Regions from separate parts of the Homo sapiens genome. Here regions 2, 3, 4 and 5 are each linked to region 1. The links are contacts of gene promoters, found by promoter capture Hi-C in blood cells and fetal thymus (Javierre and others, 2016). All regions are on one chromosome and are shown on one strand. Each heading gives the region's core, a stretch centred on a gene start or on the middle of the fragment in contact. The rest is flanking DNA. Distances are from core to core; before and after follow the strand shown.

What was found. The method cuts DNA at HindIII sites, captures the fragments that hold promoters and counts their contacts. A CHiCAGO score of 5 or more calls a contact.
Region 2: a contact is called between a fragment that was not itself captured here and the fragment with the promoter of TAF1 in region 1, in 1 of 17 cell types (fetal thymus). The highest score is 6.0, in fetal thymus.
Region 3: a contact is called between a fragment that was not itself captured here and the fragment with the promoter of TAF1 in region 1, in 2 of 17 cell types (M1 macrophages and non-activated CD4 T cells). The highest score is 5.6, in M1 macrophages.
Region 4: a contact is called between a fragment that was not itself captured here and the fragment with the promoter of TAF1 in region 1, in 2 of 17 cell types (activated CD4 T cells and non-activated CD4 T cells). The highest score is 7.1, in activated CD4 T cells.
Region 5: a fragment that was not itself captured here is called in contact with the fragment with the promoter of TAF1 in region 1 in 6 of 17 cell types (total B cells, non-activated CD4 T cells, activated CD4 T cells and 3 more); the score reaches 9.0 in total B cells.

What each region holds. Positions count from the first base shown.
Region 1 is chrX:71,364,921-71,367,951 of GRCh38, reverse strand. It overlaps TAF1 (TATA-box binding protein associated factor 1), which reads right to left and starts at 1,595. Exons shown (of 38, transcript NM_004606.5): 1 at 1,458-1,595; 2 at 339-453. The coding sequence starts at 1,577. RefSeq lists enhancers at 290-985, 1,504-1,553, 2,044-2,093, 2,262-2,831 and a silencer at 1,714-1,903. The HindIII fragment of the contact is 14,477 bases long and covers 1-3,031 here.
Region 2 is chrX:70,993,780-70,996,810 of GRCh38, reverse strand. No RefSeq gene overlaps it. Among named protein-coding and RNA genes, the nearest start is that of SLC7A3, 64 kb to the right of the region's middle. The HindIII fragment of the contact is 8,810 bases long and covers 1-3,031 here.
Region 3 is chrX:71,013,369-71,016,399 of GRCh38, reverse strand. It overlaps the pseudogene NUTF2P7. Among named protein-coding and RNA genes, the nearest start is that of SNX12, 53 kb to the left of the region's middle. The HindIII fragment of the contact is 5,492 bases long and covers 1-3,031 here.
Region 4 is chrX:71,651,991-71,655,021 of GRCh38, reverse strand. No RefSeq gene overlaps it. Among named protein-coding and RNA genes, the nearest start is that of CXCR3, 35 kb to the right of the region's middle. The HindIII fragment of the contact is 6,979 bases long and covers 1-3,031 here.
Region 5 is chrX:71,634,865-71,637,895 of GRCh38, reverse strand. No RefSeq gene overlaps it. Among named protein-coding and RNA genes, the nearest start is that of CXCR3, 18 kb to the right of the region's middle. The HindIII fragment of the contact is 1,043 bases long and covers 1,009-2,051 here.

The DNA.
Region 1 (3,031 bases), core at 346-2,845:
CGCCTGTAATCCCAGCACTTTGGAAGGCCAAGCCAGACGGATCACCTCAGGCCAGGAGTTCAAGACCAGTCTGACCAATATGATGAAACCCTGTCTCTACTAAAAATACAAAAATTAGCCGGGCGTGGTGGTGCGTGCCTGTAGTCCCAGCTACTCAGGAGGCTGAGACAGGAGAAATGCTTGAACCCGGGTGGCGGAGGCTGCAGTCAGCCCAGATCGCCCCACTGCACTCCAACCTCGGAGACAGAGCGAAACTCCGTCTTACACACACAAAAAAGTACATACATAGTAGGTGGCTAGCCTCCTCCCCCGCCTACTCCCCACAACCCAGACTTCACCTTCATCATTTACCAAGGCACCGTCAGTCCCGGTCAATTCTTCATTTGCCGTGAGTTCAGTGATCAGGCTGCCCAGCCCCAAAGCCCCCAAGCCTGCCAAGTGCTTCTTACATTCCTGAAAAAGGGACAGCACGAGTCGAAGATAACAACTAAACCTACGACTCCCACACCACAGGACTTATTTCCCTGGTCCACGACAAAGTCACAAATCCACATGAAAAATGACTGTGCAGTGTGCCAAAACAAGCAACACGTTCGAGAACTGTAATATACATCTACCAAACTCCGCATCGATCAGATCTTTATTAAAGCACCACAGCCAACTGCATCGCCCACACTTTAAAGTATACTACAAGAGAAGACGAATCAAATAACTACTGCCAAGACTGAATGAATGGAACGGTCGTTCTCGGAACGAGGGCCGAGGCAGGGGGATCAGTGGGATTGGAGGCGTCGAGGCGGGGCTCGTTCGGTCCCTGTTTCGCATGCGCCTGCGGCACAGGAGGGGCCACAGCGGCCGACAGCTTCACTCCTCAAGAAAACGGGCCTAAGTGAAGGCAGGGTAGTTTCACTAGGGCGCAGGACACTATTTCACGAAAGTCAGTGAAGACGCTGGGAGAGCCACCTAAAAGGCGCACTGTGACCAGGAGGCCCGCTCGGGTGCTAGGAACACCCCATTGTCCTAAGCCTGAGGCCGGAACCAAACGAGCGGGAGGCAGGTCCTGTCCAGTCCTCTGGCTCTATAGAGCCATCTCAGGGCAGCGATGTCAGAGGGGCAGGCAGTGTCAAGAATCTCCAAGCAGGTTACGGGTGGGAAGCCATCTCAGTAGGCGAAACCAGCATGTGTCCTACTGTCTGGTCGGCAGAGCGCTAGCTCCAAAGCCACTATTCCCTGCGCCCCTGGCCCCGGGCTCGCCTCGCGCTCTCTTCTGCCCACTCTCCCCCAGAACGATCACTCCCACGCCACGTTGCTCCCGCACCCATGAGGACGGGATCCTCCTCCCCGGCGTTAGCTGCGCCCTGTTCTCGCTGCCTGAGCACCCTCTCCTTTCCTCCCCGCACCTCCTTCCTCTGCTTAGCCCCACCCCCCGAGCCCTACCCCCACGCCCACCCCCTCACATCATCCAAGACGCTTTCCCCCTCCAGCTGCCCGGCTCCATTGATGTTGCCGAAAAGGAAACCCGCTAAAGAAAATGGGCCGCCTCCAGCGGAATCTTCGTCGCTGTCCGTGTCTGACATGATGGCGGCAGCAGTGATGGTAGCTGCTGTCCGCAGCAGCAAATCGCAGCCGGGTCCCATAGACCGGAAATAAAACAACAGTCGCCCAGAAGTGACTTACTGAGCTCCCTTACCCTACCAGCCTCTACCGGAAGCTCAAAACAGAGGGGAAAGGGAGGGGGAAGTGGGGAGAGGGGAGGGGGAAGGGGGGGAAAACCCGGAAAGACCGGCTATCCTAAGAGAAAGAAGTAACTACTTTACTAACGGCTTTTGATTCGACGCTACGGGATCAGGAGGATGGATATGTGGAAAGCGGTTGGTCAAAGAAAATATTCAGTCCCGCCCGCTCCCACTGCTCCGCGCGCGAGCTTTCTCACGGCACCGAATTAGAGCAGTGGCTCTTCCTCCAATCAGAAGGAGCTGCTCGAGTCACGTGGCTTACGCGCAGGCAACCTCGGGTTCCTGTACCACAATACCCGGAAGTAAGGGTAAGAGCCGGTCTTTGTGCTGCGTGCAATTTCACCGGTCCGTCCCAAGGAGAGACTTGACGTAAATTATACAGGCATTCCCGAGCTATGCAGGTTACTTGTTTTGAGTTGACATTTTTCCCTAGAAATTGATTTTTTGACCGGACGCGGTGGCTTACGCCTGTAATTCCAGCACTTTGAGAGGCCGAGGTGGGAGGATCGCTTGAGCCCACGAGTATGAGGCCAGCCTGGACAAGAAAGCGAGACTCCATCCATACACAAAATCAAAAAAATTAGCCAGATGTGGTGGCCAGTGCCTGTAGTCCCAGCTGTTGGGGGGTCTGAGGTGGGAGCCAGGAGTTGGAGTCTGCAGTGACCTGTGATCGGGCCACTGCACTCCAGCCCGCCTCAAAAAAAATACTTGTTCCCCCAACGTTTTATTTCGGAAAATGTGAAAGTTTAGTAAAATGAACAGCTGACCCCTCACCTAGACTCACAATGGTTAACATTTTGCTAGGATTTTTGTTTTTCTAAACCATTTATGGGCATCTTGTTCTTCACTCCTAAAAATAAGCATCTTAACTATGGAACCAAAGTACCTTTATCACAACTTTAGGAAGTAAGTCAATATTATTTAAGGAAGAGTCCGCACTTAAATTTCCCCAGTTGTCCTAGTTGGAACATTTTACGGGGTTTCGTCATGTTGCACAGGCTGGTCTCAGACTCCTGGGCTCAAGCAATCTGCCCGTTTCAGCCTCCCAAAGTGCTGGGATTGCAGCCATGAGCCAACACCCCGGCTTTCACCTTGCTTTTTTCACATATTATGATAATATAGACTGAAATAATTTCTTTACCACATCATAGCACTCTTCCTCATTCTCCCTTTTTTCCAATACTAGGATCCATTCACGTTTCATGCATTGTATTTGGTCATCTTCCTTTAGTCCAGAATCACCTGCCTTCTTGTTTGTTTTTCATGACACTAAATATTTGGAAGAATCCAGGCAA
Region 2 (3,031 bases), core at 209-2,708, 370 kb after region 1:
AAGACTAAAAGATGAACCGATCAAAAATAATAACTATGACAACTTTTCAAGACATAAACAGTACAATAAAATATAAATAGAAACAACAAAAAGTTATAAGGCTGGAGGATGAGGTTAAAGTGTAGAGTTTTTATTAGTTTTCTCTTTGCTTGTTTGTTAGTTACCTTGTTTGTTCATGCAATTAGTGTTAAGTTGTCATCAGTTTAATAATAACATTGAATGTAAATGGACTCAACTCTCCAATCAAAAGACACAGAGTGGCTGAATGGATAAAAAAAAAGCAAGACCCAATGATCTGTTGCCTACAAGAAGCACACTTCCCCTATAAAGACACACATAGACTGAAAATAAAGGGATGGAAAAAGATATTCCATGCCAATGGAAATAAAAAAGGAGAAGGAGTAGCTGTACTTCTGTCAGACAAAATAGATTTCAAGACAAAAACTATAAAGAGACAAAGAAGGTCATTATATAATATAAATATAAATATATATAAAGAGACAAAGAAGGTCATTATATATAAAGAGACAAAGAAGGTCATTATATAATGATAAATTCAGCAAGAGGATATAACAATTTTAAATACATATGCATCCAACACCAGAGCACCCTGATATACAAAAGGAATATTATTAGAGCTAAAGAAAGAGACAGAACCTAATACAATAATAGCTGTAGACTTCAACACCTCACTTTTAGCATTGGACAGATCATCTGGACAGAAAACCAACAAAGAAACATTGGACTTAATCTGCACTATAGATTAAGATCTGCAAACTGATCTAAAAGATATTTACAGAACATTTCATCCAATGGCTGCAGAATACACATCTTCTCATCAGCAAATGGATCATCCTCAAGGATAGACTATATGTTAGGCCACAAAACAAGTCTTAAAACATTAAAAAAAAATTATGTCAAGTACATTCTCTGACCACAGTGGAATAAAACTAGAAATCAATAACAAGAGGAATTTTGGAAACTATACAAACACATGGAAATTAAACACCATGCACTTAAATGACAAGTAGGCCAATAAAAAAAATGAGAAGAAAACTGAAAAATTTCTTGAAACAAATGATAATGGAAGCACAACATACCCAAACCTATGGGACGCAGTGAAAGCAGTACTAAGAGGGAAGTTTATAGCTATAAGCACCTACGTCAAAAAAGTATTAGGTTGATGCAAAAGTAATCGCGGTTTTTGCCATTGAACATAATGGCAAAAAGTAATGGTTTTCACTTTCAATGGCAAAAACCGCAATTACTTTTGCACCAACCTAGAAAAAACTTCAACCTAGTTCTAGTTGAAGAGATAAACAACCTAAATGAACTTTTCTAGTTCTTTAACATGCATCATTAGGTGGTTTATTTGAAGAATAGAACCTAATGATGCATGAGACAGAACTAGAAAAACTAGAAAAACAAGAAAAAACAACCCCAAAATTAGTAGAAGAAAATAGATAGTAATGATCAGAGCAGAAATAAGTGAAATTGAAACAAATAAAACAATACAAAAGATTGATGAAATGAAAAGTTGTGTATTTTTTGGAAAAGATAAACAATATTGACAAACCTTTAGTCAGACTAAGAACAGAAGAGAGATTATCCAAATAAATAAAATCACAGATGAAAAGGGAGACTTTACAACTGATACTGCAGAAATTCAAAGGATCATTAGAGGCCACTATGAGCAACTATATGCCAATAAGTTAGAAAACCTTGAAGAAATGAATAAATTCCTAGACATATACACCTTCCCAAGATTGAACCATGAAGAAATCCAAAACTTGAACACACCAATAACAAGTAATGAGATCGAAGCTATAATACTAAGTCTCCCAGCAAAGATAATCCTGGGGCCCAATGGCTTCACTGCTGAATTTTACCAAACATTTTAAGAAGAACTAATACCAATCCTATTCAAACTATTCTGAATAACAGAGGAGGAGGGAATATTTTCAAACACACTCTACAAGGCCAGTATTACCCTGATACCAAAACCAGACAAAGACACTTCAGAAAAAGAAAACTACAGGCCAGTATCCCTGATGAACGTTAACGTAAAAATTCTCAAGAAGGCCAGGCATGGTGGCTCACGCCTGTAATCCCAGCACTTTGGGAGGATGAGGCGGGTGGATCACATGAGGCCAGGAGTTTGAGACCAGCGCGGCCAACACGGTGAAACCCCATCTCTACTAAAAATACAAAAATTAGCTGGGCGTGTTGCTGCACGTCTGTAAACCCAGCTACTCAGGAGGCTGAGCCATGAGAATTGCTTGAACCTGGGAGGCAGAGGTTGCAGTGAGTTGAGATCGTGCCACTGCACTCCAGCCTGGGCAACAGGGTGAGATCTTATCTCAAAAAAAAAAAATCCTCAAGAAAATACTAACAAACCAGTCAGATGCAATGGCTCATGCCTGTCAATCCCAGTGCTTTGGGAGGCCAATGTGGGAGGATTACTTGAAGCCAGGAGTTTGAGACCAGACTGGGCAACATAGTGAGACCCTGTCTCTACTAAAAAAAAAAAAAAGACAAAAAAAGACTAGCAAATCGAATTCAACAACACATTAAAAGATCATTCATCATGGCCAAGTGGGATTTATCTCTGGATGCAAGGATGGTTTAATGTATGCAAATCAATCAATGAGATATGTCATACCAATAGAACAAAGGACAGAAACCATATGATCATTTCAACTGATGCTGAAAAAACATTTAATAAAATTCAACATCCCTTCATGATAAAAATCCTCAAGAAACTGGGTATAGAAGAAACATACCTCAACACAACACAAGCCATATATGACAGACCACAGCTAGTATCATACTGAATGAGGAAAACCTCAAGGCCTTTACTCTAAGATCTGGAACACAACAAGGATGACTACTGTAAACACTGTTATTCAACATAGTACTGGAAGTCCTAGCTAGAGCAATCAGACAAGAGAAAGAAATAAAAGGTATCCAAATTGGAAAAGAAATCAAATTATACTTGTTTGTAAATGATATGATCTTATATTTGGAAAAA
Region 3 (3,031 bases), core at 248-2,747, 350 kb after region 1:
CTGCCACCGAGGTGTTGTGCATGATGTTTGGACACTAGACTAGTTGCTTCTGACGGGAGAAGTTTGTGTTGTACCAGCGCATGCCTTGGAAAGACTTAAGTAATGCAAAAGGTTGTCCTTTGTTTTTTTTTTTTTTAAATCTATGGAGAAGTTGCTCTAGTAACCCAAAGAAGGGAAGGAGAAAGCAGCTGCCTCACCGCCCAGACATTGATTTGTTCAGACGATACAATAAAACCACAAAAATTTTATTAACAACAAAAAAAGATTTCTTTAATATTTAATAGTTGAAAGAATGAATCCTGGCTCTTCTGTGTACTAGCTGCCTGATCATGGAAATATTACTTACTTTCTCCAAACTTCAGTTTCTTCATCTATCAAGTGGATTGATACTTACTGTAAGAATTAAATTAAAAAAATAAAGCACTCAACACGATGCCTGGCACATACTTAGAGCTCAGTAAATAGTCACTATTATTAGGCAGTGGAAAGCAGAGTTAATGAGAAGGAAGTTGAATCATGTGAAGGATTATTCTTCACAGATAGGTATGCAATTACTTATTTATTGTCAGAGCAGCTTACAGAAGTTTAAGGGTCAGAGCCTCTTGGACATCAGGCTATAATGAATGCAAATTAGACTCATTTGAAGGAAAGTAGTTCCCTTTTGTTTCCTGAGTTTGTAAGAAATTAGAACTTCTATATATTTTCTCTGATGGTTAATTTTAGATGTCAACTTGACTGGATTAAGGAATACCTAGAATCCTGGTAAAGCATTATTTTGGAGTGTGTCTGTGAGGGTTTCCAGAAGAGATGATTGTGTGAGTCTGAGTGGACTAGGTGGGGAAGATTTGCCCTTAGTGTGGGCAGGCATCATTCAATCTGTTAGGGACCTGTAGAGAACAAAAAATGAGAAAAAGGCAAATGTGTTGATTTATCTGCTGGAGCTGGGATACATTTGTCTCCTGCTTTGGGCAACAGAACTCTGGTCTCCCCGGTCTTTGGACTCCAGAACTTACACCAGTGCTCCCTGCCTAACCTTCGGTTCTCAGGCCTCTGGCCTCCGACTGAGAGTTACACGCCATTGGCTTCCCTGGTTCTGAGGCCTTCAGACTTGGACTGAACCATGCTATCAGCATCCTGGGGTCTCCAGCTTGCAGATGGCCTGTTGTGGGATTTCTCAGCCTCTATAATCATGTGTGCCAATTCCCCTAATAAATTCCCTCTCATATATCTATCTATATGTATCCTATTGGTTCTCTGACTAATATACTTTCAGGATATATATATAATATAATAGTCAGGAGAACTCTGACTAATATACTTTCCTTCCAGAATAGTACTTTTAACATGAGCATTCTTTTTATTATTATTATTTTTTAGATGGAGTTTCACTTTTGTTGCCCAGGCTGGAATGCAATGGCACAATCTTGGCTCACTGCAACCTCCGCCTCCTGGGTTCAAGTAATTCTCCTGCCTCAGCCTCCCGAGTAGCTGGGATTACAGGCATGCGCCACCACGCCCAGCTAATTTTGTATTTTTAGTAGAGATGGGGTTTATCCATGTTGGTCAGGCTGGTCTCAAACTCCTGACCTCAGGTGATCTGCCTGCCTCGGCCTCCCAAAGTGCTGGGATTACAGGCATGAGCCACCGCGCCCAGCCAACATTAGCATTCTTAGTATTTACCATTAGTATTTTTAATGTTTCTGTTTGACTCAAATCTTGAATTTTTTGGAAAATAGTAAAACGATGGACAGGTTAGGTGGATAGGCCATGCTAGTTGAAAACAGAGAAGATGGTAAAGTATAAAAGATAGCTGGGCATGGCGGCACGCACCTGTAGTCCCAGCTACTCAGGAGGCTGAGGTGGGAGAATCACTTCAGACCAGTAGTTTGAGACCAGCCTGGGCAACATAGTGAGACACAATCTCTAAGAAAAAAGAGTTTCCTCCTTAATCAGTTCAGATCACCTTTTGGACATAAGTCATTAGGTTATTTGTCTGGGTAGAGTAAAGCAGGCTGCCGGGAGTTGAAGTGTCACAGGGAGACTAAAGAAGAGGTACTAAAGAGGCTTTTCAGACGGCTTATCAAAGTTAAGGAGGAGGAGTTAGGCCTCTCAGTCTAGATAGCAAGGAAAGGGATGGACTGGTTTTTATGGACCAAGTTTTGTGAGGCCTAAAAAAGCTACTTGGGAGGCTGAGGCAGGAGAATTTGCCCTAAAAGGGCAGGAGGCCTAAAAAAGGAGTCATAGGGGATAAAGTTTAAAGATACAGGATTTTTTGTTGTTATTGTTTTACATTGTTTTATTTATTTTAATTTTTTGAGACAGGGTCTTGCTCTGTTGCCCAGGCTGGAGTGCAATGGTGCGATCTTGGCTCACTGCAACCTCCAACTCCCAGGTTCAAGTGATTCTCCTGCCTCAGCCTCCAGCGTAGCTGGGACTACAGACGCGCACCACCACGCCTGGCTAATTTTTGTATTTAGTAGAGACGGGGTTTTACCATGTTGGCCAGGCTGGTCTCGAACTCCTGACCTCATGATCCACCCACCTTGGCCTCCCAAAGTGCTGGGATTACAAGCATGAGCCACCGCTTCTGGCCATACACTTTATTTTTTAGAGAAGTTTTAGTTCACAGCAAAATTGAGCAAAAGGTATAGAGAGTTCCCGTATACTTCCTGTCCACACACGCACAATCTCTTTTACTATCAACATCCCACACCAGAGTGGTATATTTGTCACTATCAATGAACCATCATTACTACCCAAGGTCTATAGTTTACATTAGGGTTCACTCTTGGTATTATATATTCTATGGGTTTCAACAAATGTTTAGTGACATGTATCTACCATTACAGTATCATACAGAATAGTTTCACTGCCCTAAAAATCCTCTGTGCTCCACCTATTCATTCCTTTTCTCCCAATGCCTGGGAGCCACTATAGTCATCATGATGTACAATAGATCTCCTGGCCAGGTGCAGTGGCTCACGACCATACTCCCAGCACTTTGGGAGGCCAAGGCTGGTGGATCACTTGA
Region 4 (3,031 bases), core at 205-2,704, 290 kb before region 1:
AAAACTGGCTAGCCATATGGAGAAAGCTGAAACTGGATCCCTTGCTTACACCTTATACAAAAATTAATTCAAGATGGATTAAAGACTTAAATATTAGACCAAAAACGATAAAAACCCTAGAAGAAAACCTAGGTAATACCATTCAGGACATAGGCATGGGTGAGGACTTCACGACTAAAACACCAAAAGCAATGGCAATAAAAGCCAAAATTGACAAATGGTATCTAATTAAACTAAAGAGCTTCTGCACAGCAAAAGAAACTACCATCAGAGTGAACAGGCAACCTACAGAATGTGAGAAAATTTTTACAATCTACCCATCTGATAAAGGGCTAATATCCACAATCTACAAAGAACTTAAACAAATTTACAAGAAAAAATCAAAAAACCCCATCAAAAACTGGGTGAAGGATATGAACAGTCACTTCTCAAAAGAAGACATTTATGCAGCTAACAGACACATGAAAAAATGCTCATCATCACTGGCCATCAGAGAAATGCAAATCAAAACTACAATGAGATACCATCTCACACCAGTCAGAATGGCAATCATTAAAAAGTCAGGAAGCAACAGGTGCTGGAGAGGATGTGGAGAAATAGGAACACTTTTATGCTGTTGGTGAGACTGTAAACTAGTTCAAACATGTGGAAGACAGTGTGGCGATTCCTCAGGGATCTAGAACTAGAAATACCATTTGACCCAGCCATCCCATTACTGGGTATATATCCAAAGGATTATAAATCATGCTTCTATAAAGACACATGCTGACATATGTTTATTACGGCACTATTCACAATAACAAAGACTTGGAACCAACCCAAGTGTCCATCAATGATAGACTGGATTAAGGAAATGTGGCACATATACACCATGGAATACTATGTAGCCATAAAAAAGGATGCATTCATGTCCTTTGTAGAGACATGGATGAAGCTGGAAACCATCATTCTGAGCAAACTATAGTAAGGACAGAAAACCAAACACCACATGTTCTCACCCATAGGTGGGAATTGAAAAATGAGAACACTTGAATACAGGGTGGGGAACATCACACACCAGGGCCTGTCTTGGGGTGGGGGAAGGGGGGAGGCATAGCATTAGGAGATATAACTAATGTAAATGATGAGTTAATGGGTGTAGCACACCAACATGGCACATGTATATATATGTAACAAACCTGTATGTTGTGCACATGTACCCTAGAACTTAAAGTATAATAAAAATAAATAAATAAACAAATAAAAGAGAAACAGCATAAAAGTTCAGAAAATTTGCAGCCTGACAGTTAAGTAGAAAAGAAAAACTCCTTTTTTTGAGGAGAAATTCAAGCCGGCTGCAGAAATTTGCATAAAGAGCAAGGAGACTAATGTTAATCCCCAAGACCCTGGGGAAAATGTCTCCAGGCCATGTCAGAGAACTTCAAGGCAGCCCCTCCCATCACAGGCCCAGGGGCCCAAGAGGAAAAAGTGGTTTTGTGGGCTGGGCCCAGGGTTCCCATGCAGTGTGCAGCCTAGGAACTTGGTGCCCAGCCACTCCAGCCATGGCTGAAAGGGGCCAATGCAGAGCTCAAGCTGTGGCCTTAGAAGGTGGAAGCCCCAAGTCTTGGCAGCTTCCATGAGGTATTGAGCCTGCGGCTACACAGAAGTCAAGAATTGAGGTTTGGGAACCTCTGCCTAGATTTCAGAAGATGTATGGAAACGCCTGGATGCTCAGGCAAAAGTTTGCTGCAGGGGGAGCATTGTGGAGAACCTCTGCTAGGGCAGTGCAGAAGGGAAATGTGGAGTCGGAGCCACCACACAGAGTCCCTACTGGGGGACTGCCTAGTGGAGTTCCCATACAGGTGCACTTGATAATTATTTATTAAACTACGCACATAGATTGTGATGTTTTCTTTCTGTATGTTACTTACTGCCATAAGCAGAGAAAAAATAGTGGTAAGGGAAGTAACATTGCATTAAACAGTCAAGTATTTTATAACCAGAAGGATAACCAAAATTATTTTCTCTATTTATAGCAGATCTCTTTGAGAGTAGTAATATCAGTTTATTGATAAAAATAGTTTTATTTTCATATTCTCATAGATTTCACTAAACATCATAGGAGTGATGCTTACATAATTGGGATATTAATTTCGATGTTTTGGTAAGTATTTTATATTTGGGTGGTAAGTTTTCATTCACAGTTTGTGACTTTGTGCTGGAATCCCATGCACTTGGTACATTTTCTCAGGGGAGATTTGTCACCTCCCCATCCACTTATTCTCAGAGGTGGAGGACCAAGAACTGGAGAAAAAGAAATGACCAAAAAAAAAATCTAAAAACATGTGCCTTCAATGTAATACATGAATTTGACCAGGTGAGGGCAGTGCCGTTTTAAGCTGTTTGCTGGGATGCAAGTGGAGGCAGCTAGTGATCTCATGCCTTTTGAGTTTCTCCTCTTCTCTACTGTTAGCTGCTGGGATTGAAAGGGCCATTTGTGCCAATTAAAATGGAAGCAGTGTTGGCAATCCTTCTGATGGGCTGCATCTCCTTTGCCTGTTTGGCACTTCCATCCTAACGCCAACCTTGCCAGCTGCTTTCCCCAGCAACTCTTTTCTTCCTGTTTCTTCTCCTCAGGCCCAACTAAGACCACTGATGTGCTACACAAAGCACGGGGCCCTGACAAACAGAGAGATAGCAGGCTGGACTGTGCAGCCCTTTGGGGCCTTATTGTTGTGAATAAAGCCAGAGGCATTTTCCTAAAAAGTCAACCTCCATCCCAGGATGAGTTTCCCCTGCTTTTGTTTCTAGCCTTGTACTCCCTGAGGGTGGCTTGAGTGAAGGCTCCACACTGGTTTATGGCATTAATAGGGTCAAGTAGGACGAATGTTGGGATTATTTATTTCATCAATTGATGAAATGAAATAAAAACTATTCTCTGGGGCCAGGCTCAGTGGCTCATGCCTGTCTGGGAGGCCAAGGCGGGCAGATCGCTTGAGCTCAGGAGTTCAAGACCAGCCTGGCCAACATGGCAAAACCCTGTCTCTATGAA
Region 5 (3,031 bases), core at 281-2,780, 270 kb before region 1:
AGGGCCTGAAACCAAGTCCTTGGAGAGAATCACTGAGAATCTTACAAGACGGTGGGAATATAGACCTACCAGGGATAGCCTGTATCTTCAAAGAATTCTTTAAGTGGAGGAAAAAGAATTGTTTTAAAAATTACAATCCAGAAGGCTGAGGTGGGAGGATCACTGGAGCCTGGGAGGCAGAGGTTGCAATGAGCCGAGATCATGCCATTGCACTCCAGCTTAGGCGACAGAGCAAGACCCTGTCTCAAAAAAAAAAAAAAAAAAAAATTAAAATCCGGTATCCAAAATTCTATTCTACGCTGGTGCAGACTGTCCTGTGGGAGCCCAAAAAGAAGCAGTCACTACTGCATTGGAGGTTTGAGGCCAGCTTCTGAAAGGAAGAGATTCCCAATGGATAAGGCAACTGAGTTAGGACAGAGCACATGGGAACACATGCACAGAGGCATGGAGAGGAGCCTGTTGACTCATTTGGTGAACAAACTTGGCAGTATGCTTAGTAAGTGGGACTCTTGTTAAAGAGCCAGGCCACTGGGGCCTTGTGTGTCAGGCTCAGGGCATCGACCTATATACACAGGGCCATGGGGAAGAGCACTGTCGAGTTTTGAACAGGGAAATGATATGATTAGATTTGTATCCTGAGCAATCTTTCCATATCAAGGCAAGACTGGGCACAGGGGAATCAGGTAAGAGGGGCTGTCACAGCGGGCCAGTAGAGAGATGCCAGCTTGAGCCTCGGGAGGAAGGGCAGAGAGGAGGGAACCTATTTAAGAACATACGCTTCTGAGCACTTGTGCTGGTAGGGTTGCTGAATCATCGCAGATGCACCTGTTGCCTAGATACTACCCAGCTGCTCTCCAAAAAGGCTGCACCAATTTACGTAGGAAATGTTCTTTAGAGCACCCCAGCTATTTTTCATTCTTTCTCAGTCTTCCCATAATGCTATTGCATATTAACTGCCCTGTGAAGGAGAATCATATTCTCTGATGTGGATAAAGAAAATCAAAAGCTTCATGTTAAACTTGTGATTCCCCGTGTACTATGCATGGCTCCCCCCTGCTTTCTCTTCTACTATGCCCAGGCTCCTCAGTACATTGAAAGGTGTATCTTTCTTTATTGTTAGTCATCCCAGACTATAAATCTAGGTATACAAGAAACATTGCCTCTCTTTATTGTTTTTCTATATCAATCTAATTTCAATTCTGCACTCCGTCTTGGCAGAGTCTGGGAAATTCACCCTGAGTCATCCTCACATTTCCTGCTTCCCTGATGTCAAGAAGAGGTCTTGGGACCTTTCACGGTATCAGACATCTAGGGGCAGAGGGGTAGAGGGTCTTGTTGTCTGTAAGTTTCTGCTAAGCCATTCATTCTACCCTGTTCATTGCTGCTTCTGTGGCTGAGGAAATCTGCCAGGCAGCTGGAAGGCCTGCAGTTTCCGGTGCATCTCCCTGCACACACCAAGGGACCACTCCTCTTTGGGGAATTACCAGCTCCTCAGAGTGTTACTAGGAAGCAGGGCCCGGGGACCCACAGCTCTCTCTCTCCTCCCTCTTCTCCTTCTACCCAGGCTGTATACCTCTCCTGAGGCAATAAAGCACATAGCTGGCTTCATTTTGATAAGGTGTGGGGAGAAAGAGGGAAACACAAGGAGGGAAGATACAGGCTTCAGCCTATGGCACCTAAAGGGATAAACTGATTGTCTACTAAAAATACAAAAAAATTAGCCGGATGTGGTGGCACGTGCCTGTAGTCCCAGTTACTTGGGAGGCTGAGGCAGGAGAATCGCTTGAAGCCAGGGAGGCAGAGGTTGCAGTGAGCCCAAATTGCACCACTGCACTCCAGCTTGGGTGACAGAGCGAGACTCTGTCTTGGAAAAAATAATAATAATAAAATAAAATAAAAAGCCAACATCCAATCTAATGTTAAAATACTTAGGCCGGGCACAGAGGCTCATGCATGTAGTCCCAGCACTTTGGGAGGCCAAGGTGGGAGGATCGAGACCAGCCTGGGCAACATAGTGAAACCCGGTCTCCACAAAAAGAAAAAACCAAGCTTAAAATACTTAAGTGGGGGGTGTAGCCCAACATCATGTTTTCACAGGAAATCTCCCAGGGGACATTGCCACTTTTCCTCCTAGGATAACGACCCTTTTCTTCCTAGGCCTCTGTGGTAGGCAGAATAATTCCCCAACTACCAAAGATATCTACATCCACATCCTAACCCAGAACCTGTGTGTGTGTGAGATTACATGTCGAAGGGGAATGAAGATTGCAGATAAAATTAAGGTTGCCAATCAGCACACTTGTGACAGGGATATTCTCTTGGATTATCCAGGTAGGCCCAGTGTAATCTCAGCATCCCTATAAGTAGAAGAGGGAGGCAGAATGAACGAACCAGACAGATGGCAGTGTGAGAAGGACTTGGCCTGACGTTACCAGGTTTTAAGATGGGGGAAGGGGCCATGGGCCAAGGCATCCAGAAGTTGGAAAACGCAAGGAAATAGACTCTTCCCTAGAGCCTCTAGAAGAAACACCAAGCCTGCCAACACTTTGATTTTAGTCCAGTGAGACGCATCTCAGGCTTTTTTTTTTTTTTTTTTTGAGTCAGATTTTCACTCTTGTCACCCAGGCTAGAGTGCAATGGCAGGATCTTGGCTCACTGCAACCTCCGCGTCCTGGGTTCAAGCAATTCTCCTGCCTCAGCCTCCCCAGTAACTGGGACTACAGGTGCATGCCACCACGCCTGGCTAATTTTTTATTTTTATTTTTAGTAGAGACTAAAAATATTATTTGTTTCACCATGTTGGCCAGGCTGGTCTCGAACTTCTGACCTCAGGTGATCCGCCCGCCTCAGCCTCCCAAAGTGCTGGGATTACAGGCTTGAGCCACTGCACCCAGCCCGCATCTCAGACTTCTGACTTCTAGAACTATAAGGTAATAAATTTGTATTGTTTGAAGCCACTAAATTTGTCATAATTTTTTATAGCAGCAGTAGGAAATAAATACAAGCTACAAAAGGAAATCATGGTTTTTAA